Linked DNA regions of Homo sapiens: region 2 is linked to region 1. The links are contacts of gene promoters, found by promoter capture Hi-C in human tissues and cell types (Jung and others, 2019). All regions are on one chromosome and are shown on one strand. The core of a region is centred on a gene start or on the middle of the fragment in contact, and the rest is flanking DNA. Distances in the headings are between cores, read along the strand shown. Region 1 holds the start of HPS1 (HPS1 biogenesis of lysosomal organelles complex 3 subunit 1). Region 2 has its middle 23 kb from the start of SFRP5.

Region 1 (4,697 bases), core at 1,478-3,977:
CTAGGGCCACAGCCACCAGTGTCTTCAGCCCTCCCAAATCTCCTTCCCCACCCCCCCGCCACACACACACACACCACACACTCTGTGCTTGATTATGTAAGAAATGTCTTAACTATTCACCCACTGGAAGATCTTTAATACAGCTTCCCACACTGTGTGCCATGGCCCTCTGCGTGCGGCAAACCCTCGATCTTCTAAAACTTGGGGCAGCCTGACCAGGCTGGTGAGGACAGTGCTCCAGGCTGGCTGCTGCAGCTAAGAGGCCTCAGGCAGTGGTTTCAAATCCTCTTATGTGCCTCAGGGTGTCACGCAGATATAATCATGTGGTATGTGCGCTAAGCCATGACAATGATTAGGAAGCTCTGCTGTAACTCTCACACAAGTGGATTTCCAGTTTTCTTGGGAGGATCACAGCATCTCCAGGTCTTGTGTTCCGTCATCCCCATGTCCAGCTTAGTGGTCCTTACTGAATTCCTCCCAAACTAACTTGGTGCAACTGGTCCCAAGGTATTTATGGCAAATGCCAGGAGACATAACAGCACAGTGAAGAAGGAATGCAGCCTATTCCCACAGAATTACTCAATGCCAAGGCAGACACTGAGAGTGCAACAGGTGTGAAAAGGAGGTTGCTGGGAGAGGCGGGTGGACCTGAAGAGGCTGCTCTGGGACTCCCAGGTACATGTGACAAAGCTGACCAGAGTGTATGGGTTAGGGAGCAGTGGGCTATGGAATGGAGGCTGTGGTTGTGAGCGGAGAAGTGACCGGCTGGCTGGAGATGGGCAGGTCAAGGTCATGAAGGCGGTCATCTAGGTGCGGGTGTCAGGTAATGAGTGCTCACCCCTTGGTGGGGGCTGGGAGGAGCTTTAAAGATGCAGCAGGCTGTGATGACCTGCCTGGATTCGAGGGGTGAAGGAGAGATGAGGCATCAGGATGGGGGTGGCCTCAGGATGCAGGGCTGGGGAGGGGATGAGCAGGTGTGCAGAGCCCAGTAGCACTCAGTCCACTGCCTACCTCATTCCATCTGCCTCCCAAAGCCCCAGGGTGGATGCTGCCTGCCTCCCTGTCCTCCCCAGGTGGGGCAAGATCATCTACCTTGGCAAGCACAGTGGAGCATCCAGACGGCCAGAGGTTCAGAAAGGGCTGCAGCAGACCGACTCGGTGACTGGCTCATGGGAGAGCAGCACAGCATCCCTGGTCCTGCAAATGCTTAAAACAGAGAGAATATGAGGGCAGGCAGATGCCCTGGTCTTGACTGCTGCCCGTTGAGAAAGGACAAGCTGGAGAAGGGCTGCGTGGTCCCTGGTCTCTCCAGGCCCTGAGGCAGTCTGCTAAGAACATATCTGGGATCCTGCCCCTCACCTCCCATAATGGAGAATAGGAACCCGGCCAGCACAGCCCTTTGCACAGAGCAGGTGCCCACTTTTGTTCCTTCCTCCTTTGTTCCCATGAAGTGCTCTCACTTCTGCGGGTCACTCAGAGCTCCCCAAGCAGCCCCAGGGAGCTTGCTAGGAGTGACTGACGGGAGACAGCATAGCACATCCCAGGTGGTGAGGATGCAGTCCCGGTGAAGGGAGTGGGGATCCTGGGATGATACGATGAATGGAAGGAAACTAACAGGAAAGGCATCTGGGACCAGGTTCTAGTTTTGGCTTTGCCAAGTCCCATAAACCTCTCTGAGCCTCAAACTCCTGCGGAGAAACAGAGCAACATCCCCTACTCTACCTCCCTACAGGGTTAGATCATGGGAGTGACCAGGCAAGCTGCAAAGTAACCTTAGCAAACTGCGTTCTTACATAGGTGTGGGGATCATTATTCCTATTTCCCAGCTTCCCTTCTTCAAATAACAGGATTAATCAATCTGGTTCCGGAATCATTCATATTTGAATAGAGGGCAGGAACAACAGAAAACTTAATTAGGAAGTCAAGCACTGTGAGCCAGTAAGAGGCAAGTGACTACCCGCCACAGAGACTGCTGTTACGAGTTCGGCCTTTAGCAGCCGAACCCTGAGACGGGCTCCATCACCCACATGATTGGCCCGAATGCCATATTCCCGAAACAGGGGGATGCTTCCCAAAGGCTGCTGGGAAGAGAACCTCGCCGGTGTCACACTGAGACTTCCGCTTCACCTCGCTATCTTGCCCTAGAAAGGGAACTCGGAGGGGACTCACTGACGAAAGGAGCTCCAGATGGCGGGGGGCCAACCTGGGGCGACCCCCAGCGCCCACTTTCACCATCTGGACCCCAGCAAACCTCCCTGTGGCCCTTGGTCCCGTCTTCAGCAGCTCCTTCTGGGGTCCCACACCTTCGGAGCCCGGCCCTGCCCCTGAGTCTCTGGAGAGAGCGAGTCAGCAGTTCGCCGCCGCGGGGCTCCCGTTTGCCTAGCACGCCAGTTTCTGTCCAGTTTCACCCCAAATCCCCACCTCCCCCCACCCCCGAACCTCACGGCCACCCTGGGAAGGAGGCTTGACTTGTGACATCCACCCCTCTTCACGGCTGAGGAACTTTGGCCCCGAGCGAGGAAGCGACCGGCCCACGGCCACACGCCCGGAGTGGGTGAGGCTAGGAGTGGGCCCGCTCCGGGACCCCTAGGGACCCTACCTCACTTCCGGGAGGGTTGAAGGGGGGCTCCGGAGGGAGGATCGCCGCCCCCAGAGGGGACAGCCCGGAGGCCCACGTACCGGATCGCGGCGCGCACAGCGCCCCGCCTGCAGGAGCCCGGGCGCGCTTCCGGGTAGGACCGCGTGATCGCGCACGTGACCGCCCGCCCCGGGAGGGGCCGGAGCCGCCGTCGCCTTCCGCGGGTTCGAGCCCCGCCCCTGCCAGGCCTTGCCCATGCCCCATTTTACAGAAGAGGAAACGGAGGCGCAGAGAGAAGAAATAACTTGCTGAGGGTCCGAACCAGGCTCAGAACCCAGGTTTCCTGGCTCCTCAGCTGATCCCTTCTCTCCTCCCCATGCCCCGGAACCTCAGGCTTTGCCTAATGAACTGAAGTTCTGGGGCTAGAGCTGTCCTTTTGTGACTGCTCTCCCTGACCTTTGGGGAGGTGACATAGCGCACAGAAGGGCTCAGTTGCCCCCAGAGTGCCAACGCTGGAATTTATAGGAGTTCTCAATCTATTTTGGGAGTGGAGTGCACATTAGGAGTTTTGTGTTGAACCTATGTTTGCAATATTTATTTTAAAAAATCGTATGTGTATTGGGGGTGCCTGGAAGTGGAGGGGGCGCTCTGGAAGGGCCTAAATCCCCGAACAGTCCACCCCTCAGTGCCTGGGTGCCACCTGGGAGCTTTGAGCCCAGCCCAGCAAGGTATGGGTTGCAAGAACTGGCTGGGGATATAGTAGATTGAGCATCTCTTGGGGGAAAGGCAGAGGCTAAGAATCAATACTTCCACCACCTGCAGATCAAAGAGAGCATCACTCCCCCCAACCCACTACCCACCCCTTCCAGCCCACCTTAGGGCAAATTCTTCCAACTCCCCATCTACAGCACATAGCCCTGCCACACGCATCTCTTTGCTCAGCCCACCGTTGAGATCGTTCACTCACTATGCTTTCAGTGGTCGAATGAATTCCATCAAATGGATATGCTGTTATTTACTTATTCATTCCCCTACTGGTAATTTCCATTTCCCAACTGCAATGTATGAGGATTCTGATTTCTCCACATCCTCACCAATGCTTGTTATTGTTGATTTTTTTTTTTTTAAGTATAGTAACCCAGCGTGGAGTGGTGTCTTGTGATTTTATTTGCACTTCCCTGACGTTCGGCATCTTTTCATGTGCTTTTTGCCTATTTGTGTACCTTCTCTGGAGAAATGTCTATTCAAATCCTTTATCCATTTTTAAATTGTCTTTATTATTGAGTTGTAAGAGTTCTTTATATGCTCTGGTTACAAGCCCCTTATCAGATACTTGATTTGCAAAAGTTTTTTTCCCATTATGTGGCTTGTCTTTTCACTTTCTTAGTGGTATCATTTGTAGCACCAAAGTTTTACATTTTTATGTAATCCAATATAATCTATTTTTTAGTTATGTACGGGTTTTTTGTGTCAACATGTTTCTTTTTTTCAAATTTGTTTGTGGTAAAATACATATAATGTAAAATTGATCATTAAGCATTTTAAGTGTATTGTTCAGTGGTATTAACTACATTCCTAATGCTATGCAGCCATCACCACCATCCATCTCCACAGCTCTTTTCATCTTTTAAAACTGAAACTATATCCATTAAGCAATAATGCTGGCCGGGTGTGGTGGCTCACACCTGTAATCCCAACACTTTGGGAGGTCAAGGCGGGCGGATCACAAAGTCAGGAGTTTGAGGTCACCCTAGCCAACATGGTGAAACCCTGTCTCTACTAAAAATACAAAATTAGCAGGGTGTGGTGGCACACAGCTGTAGTCCCAGTGACTCAGGAGGCTGAGTCAGGAGAATTGCTGGTACCAAGGAGGCAGAGGTTGCAGTGAGCCAAGATCATGCCACTGCACTCCAGCCTGGGCAACGGAGCGAGACTCCCATCTCAAAAACAACAACAAAAACAACAACAACAACAATTCTTCATTCCTCCTCATAGCAACCACAATGTTACTTTCTGTCTCTATGAATTTGACTACTCTAAGTACCTCATATAAGTAGAATCATACAGTATTTGTCTTTTTATGACTGGCTTATTTCACTTAGCATAATATTCTCAAGGT
Region 2 (4,875 bases), core at 2,212-4,711, 650 kb before region 1:
AGTCTGTGGGTGGGAACTGCCTCCTCCACTATGCCCCTCTCAGCCATGGGCTCCTATTGTCACCAGAAATCACCACAGGTCATCATAAGGACCTGGCCATGACAGCAGGGAGGACGTTTAGTCCACTAGTCACCTGCAGGATTATCCATGGAACTAATTCACTGGAGCACCTGGAGTCACACAGGCCTGGCTTGTGGCCTGGCTCAGTCACTTATCACCTGTGTGACCTTGGCTAAGATGCTTAAATTCTCTGTTTTGTCATCTGCAAAGCAGTAATAAAGATTCCTACATAGTGCGAGGACTGTGGTGTGTTCATCCTCTTGCAGCGCTACCTCTTGCCAGCTGACGTGTTGCGCTCACATACATTTGTTTTTTATTGCTGCTGAAACAAATTACAAATGTGTGTTACTTTAGCATTTAAAGCAACGCACATTTATTAGCGCACAGTCTCTGTGGGTTGGGAGTCCAGGCCTGGGTTACCTGGGTCCTTTGCTCAGGGTCTCACAAAGCTGCAGTCAAAGTGTCAGCCAGGTCCAGGCACGGTGGCTCACGCCTGTAATCCCAACAGTTTGGAAGGCCAAGGTGGGTGGATCACTTGAGGTCAGGAGTTTGAGACCAGCCTGGCCAACATGGTGAAACCTCATCTGTACTAAAAATACAAAAGTTAGCCAGGTGTGGTGGCATGCACCTTTAGTCCCAGCTACTTGGGAGACAGGCAGGAGAATTGCTTAAACCCAGGAGGCAGAGGTTGCAGTGAGATGAAATCGCACCACTGCACTCCAACCTGGGTAACAGAGTGAGATTCCATCTCAAACGAAACAAAACCCAACATGTCAGCCAGGGTAGGGTCATCTGAGACTTGGGAGCTTCTTCCAAACTTCCTAGGTTTTGGCAGAATTAATTTCCTTGCAGATGTAGAACTGCTTCTTGCCTCCCTTCCTCCCTCCCTCCCTTCCTTCTTCCCCTTTCTTCCTCTCTTCCTTCTTCCCTTTCTTCCTCCCATCCTTCCTTCCCTTTCTTTTATTTCATATAAAGATGAAGTCTCGAAATCCTGAGCTCAAGCAATCCTCCTGCCTTGGCCTCCCAAAGTGCTGGGATTATAGGTGTGAGCCACCACGCCCAGCCCAACCTCTTTAAGATCCTTCCTTCCTCTCTTCCTTTCCTTCCTTCCTTCCTTCTTTCCTTCCTTCCTCTCTCTTTTTCTTTATTTCTTCTTCCTCTTCTTCTTCTTCTTCTTTTTTTTTTTTTTAAGAGATGAGGTCTTGCTATGTTGCCCAGGCTGTTCTCGAACTCCTGGGCTCAAGTGATCCTCCCACCTTGGCCTCCCACAGTGCTGGGATCACAGGCGTGAGCCACTGCACCAAGGCCTGCATCTTCTTCTTGAAGACTGTGTCTTCAAAGCCAGCTGGAGAGCTCTCTCTGAGGTGTCACCATCTTTAAAAAGGCTCACCTGATTAGGTCAGGCCTACCCAGGATCATCTCACTTTCTATTAACTTAAAGTCAACTGATTATAACATTCCATATTTGCTGGTCCCACCCAGACTAAGGAAGAAGAGATCATACAGGCCATGCATAGTCAGGGTAGGAATCCTGGAGGCTATTTTAGAATTATCAGTATGACAAAAATTATTTTCACTAATAACCATGTAATAATCAGTAATAATTATTTTTAAACAACTTGTTCTTTCATTTTGAAACAAATAAACACAAAGAAAATGTCAACTTTAAACATACTGTTCAAATTCAGTAAAATGTTTTGTGTATAAACAAATGTTGTATTTACCAGACAAAAGCATTCATACTTAACATCATGGTTATCCATTTTAAACACAAAACAAACCTCCATAGAGTGGTGCCATAGAATGACAGAATTGAAGAAACTCAAATTCTGTTTTTTTTCATACTCAATAGACTATAATTTTTTATTTTGAATAAAATAAAATAAAAATAATAAAAAATGAACTAAATAAATAAAATACCCTTTAAATGCAGGAATGTGTAGTACTGTATGATTTGGGGACACAAACTGCACTTGAAGCCAGCTGGAATGATTCTTTTTTTTTTTTTTGAGATGGAGTCTCCCTCCGTCACCTAGGCTGGAGTGCAGTGGTGCGATCTCCGCTCAATGCAACCTCCGCCTCCCAGGTTCAAGCGATTCTCCTGCCTCACCCTCCCTGAGTAGCTGGGACTACAGGTGTAGTCTGTAGTCTGTAGACCATGCCTGGCTAATTTTTTTGGTATTTTTAGTAGAGATGGGGTTTCACCATGTTGGCCAGGCTGGTCTCGAACTCTTGACTTCAGGTGATCCACTCACCTCAGCCTCCCATAGTGCTCAGATTACAGGCGTGAGCCACCATGCCCGGCCCAGCTTGAATGATTCTCAACTGTTAGGAACTTACCCTACAAATACACAGGTGGGAAACAAGCAAGGTGCCCTTCAATAAGTAAATGGTAAATTGTGGTACATCCATGCAATGGAGTGTTATTCAGTGAGCAAAAGAGATAAGATACACTGTCAAACTATGAAAAGATACTGACGAACCTCAGATGCATGGTACTAAGGGGAAAAGCCCATCTGAAAAGGCCGTATGCTGTGTGGTTCCAACTACAGTGCATGACATTCTGGAAAAGGCAAAGCTATGGAGACAGCAAAAAGATCAGTGGTTGCCAGGAGCTGGGGGAGGGAGGGATGAATAGGTGGATGGCAGACGATTTTTAAGACAGTGAAACTATTCTGTGTGATACTATAATGACGAGTAATATCATTACATGGTCAAAACCCATAGAATGTACAAAGCTTTTGCTGGTCATTAGTGAACTCTAATGTAAACTATGGATTTTCATTAACAACAGTGTATCAGTATTGGTTCACCAATTGTAACAAATGTACCACTGTAGTGTAAGATGTTAATATTAAGGGAAACTACCCGCACTCAATTTTTCTATAAATCTAAAACTGCTCTAAAAATGAAGTTTACTAATTAAAAATATATCACAAGCATAGCTAAGTCAGCGTGTGTCTAAGGCTGCCCGAATAACCGAGAGCTTTCTAAATTAACTGTCATGTAGAATATGATGCTTATGAAAGAATAAATCACGAAAGTGTGCTAATTGGAAGTTAACTTGTATGAAAGCCCAGCAGTATAACCACGTCACTTGTTTAGAACTTAGACCAATGAAGGATTTTTTAGGGAAGGGTATTTTATCACTGATATACCTTAAAGGAATTGCTTGGTGAGAATAGCATGTAGATGGCCCCTTGGTTTGTTTTACTGATGTTTCCAATTGTCTACCAGCACACTCCCATATTGCCTGCACCTGGGAGGGCCCACTCCCAGCGCCCTGCTCTCAGCGCCCCCTGCCAGCAATCCAGGTGTTCTTTCCATACTCAGTGCGTCCCTGGATGCTGCATCCCATCTCACAGGACCTTGTTAATGGGCAGAAGAGAACTGTTTCTTTTCTCATGTCCCTTTTTAACTTTTTATTTTTAATAGGCTTAATTTTTTTAGAGCAGTTTTCGGTTCACAGCAACATTGAGAGGAAGGTAGAGAGATTCCCCATATACCCGCTGCCCTCCCAACATGCACAGCCTCCCCCATTATCCATACCGCTCACCAGAGTGGTACGTGTGTTACAACTGATGAGCTTACATGGGCACACCATCATCTCCCAAAGTCCATGGTTTTCATTACGGTTTGCTCTTGGTGTTGTACATTCTATGGGTTTGGATAAATGTCTAATGACACGCATCCACCATTATAGTATCATACAGAATAGTTTCATTGTCTTAAAAATCCTCTGTGCTCCACCTATTCACCCCTCTCTCTCCACTAACCCCTGACAACACTGATCTTTTTACTGTCTTCACCATTTTTCCTTTTCCAGAATGTCATATAGTACATAGCCTTTTCAGACTGGCTTATTTTACTTAGTAATACACATTTAAGCTTCCTCTATGTCTTTTCATGACTTGGTAGCTCGTTTTTTTTTTCTTGTTGAATAACAAGATTGCATTGATTGGCCACAGTTTACCTATCCTCTGTGTCTTTTTTTAAGAGCAAGAAAGCATTTCCTAGAAGTCTCCCCAGCTGACTTCCTGTCATGTCTCATCGGACAGAATCAAGTCACATGCTCCTTCCTAAGCCAGTTGCTGGCAAGGGGAAAGACGTTACCATGAGTGACCAAGTATCAGTCCTGGGACAAGGAGAGTCCAGCCTTCTCTGAAGTTCTGACAACCTAATACATGAAAAAAATTCTTGCAAGGGCTATTTAGTGAGGATGGAGTCAGGAAATGGCTGTTGGGTGGGTAACCAATAATGTTTGCTTCGGCAACCACATTTTTTTTTTTTTTGAGACAGGATCTTATTCTGTTGCCCAGGCTGGAGTGCAGTGGTGTGATGTAGCTCACTGCAACCTTGAACTCCTGGGCTCAAGTGATCCCCCTACCTCAGCCTCCCAAATAGCTGGGACTACAGGCACACACCATCATGCCCAGATAATTTATTTATTTACTTTTGTGGAGACGGGGGTCTCATTGTGTTGTCCAGGCTGGTCTTAAACTCCTGGCCTCAAGCGATCCTCCTGCCTTGGCATCCCAAAGTGCTATGCTCAGCCTACATCTTTTTTAAAGATAAAATTTAATTTTTCTGCTTATAAAATGCATTTTAGAAAATCTGAAAACTACATAAAGTAAAATAAAACTCACCAATAATCTCAACTTCTGGTGATTATTATTGTTAGCACTGTGCAGTATCCATCTCTTTCTTGATTTTTTTCTCTATTTACTTGCAGTGACACATAGAATGAGATATTAAGTCAGGACTCTTTCTCTTCCAGTATTGACTGAGGCACGAAGACAAAGGTGCCACATGCAG

Evidence for each region. The method cuts DNA at HindIII sites, captures the fragments that hold promoters and counts their contacts. A contact is called where the count stands out against the background at its distance.
Region 2: a contact is called between a fragment that was not itself captured here and the fragment with the promoter of HPS1 in region 1, in 1 of the 25 tissues and cell types used here (bladder).

Annotation. Positions count from the first base shown.
Region 1 is chr10:98,444,208-98,448,904 of GRCh38, forward strand. HPS1 (HPS1 biogenesis of lysosomal organelles complex 3 subunit 1) reads right to left here and starts at 2,728. Exons shown (of 20, transcript NM_000195.5): 1 at 2,600-2,728; 2 at 1,093-1,197. HPS1-AS1 (HPS1 antisense RNA 1) reads left to right here and starts at 2,114. Exons shown (of 3, transcript NR_134454.1): 1 at 2,114-2,550. RefSeq lists a silencer at 2,546-2,895. The HindIII fragment of the contact is 14,922 bases long and covers 1-4,697 here.
Region 2 is chr10:97,792,734-97,797,608 of GRCh38, forward strand. No RefSeq gene overlaps it. Among named protein-coding and RNA genes, the nearest start is that of SFRP5, 23 kb to the left of the region's middle. The HindIII fragment of the contact is 5,525 bases long and covers 700-4,875 here.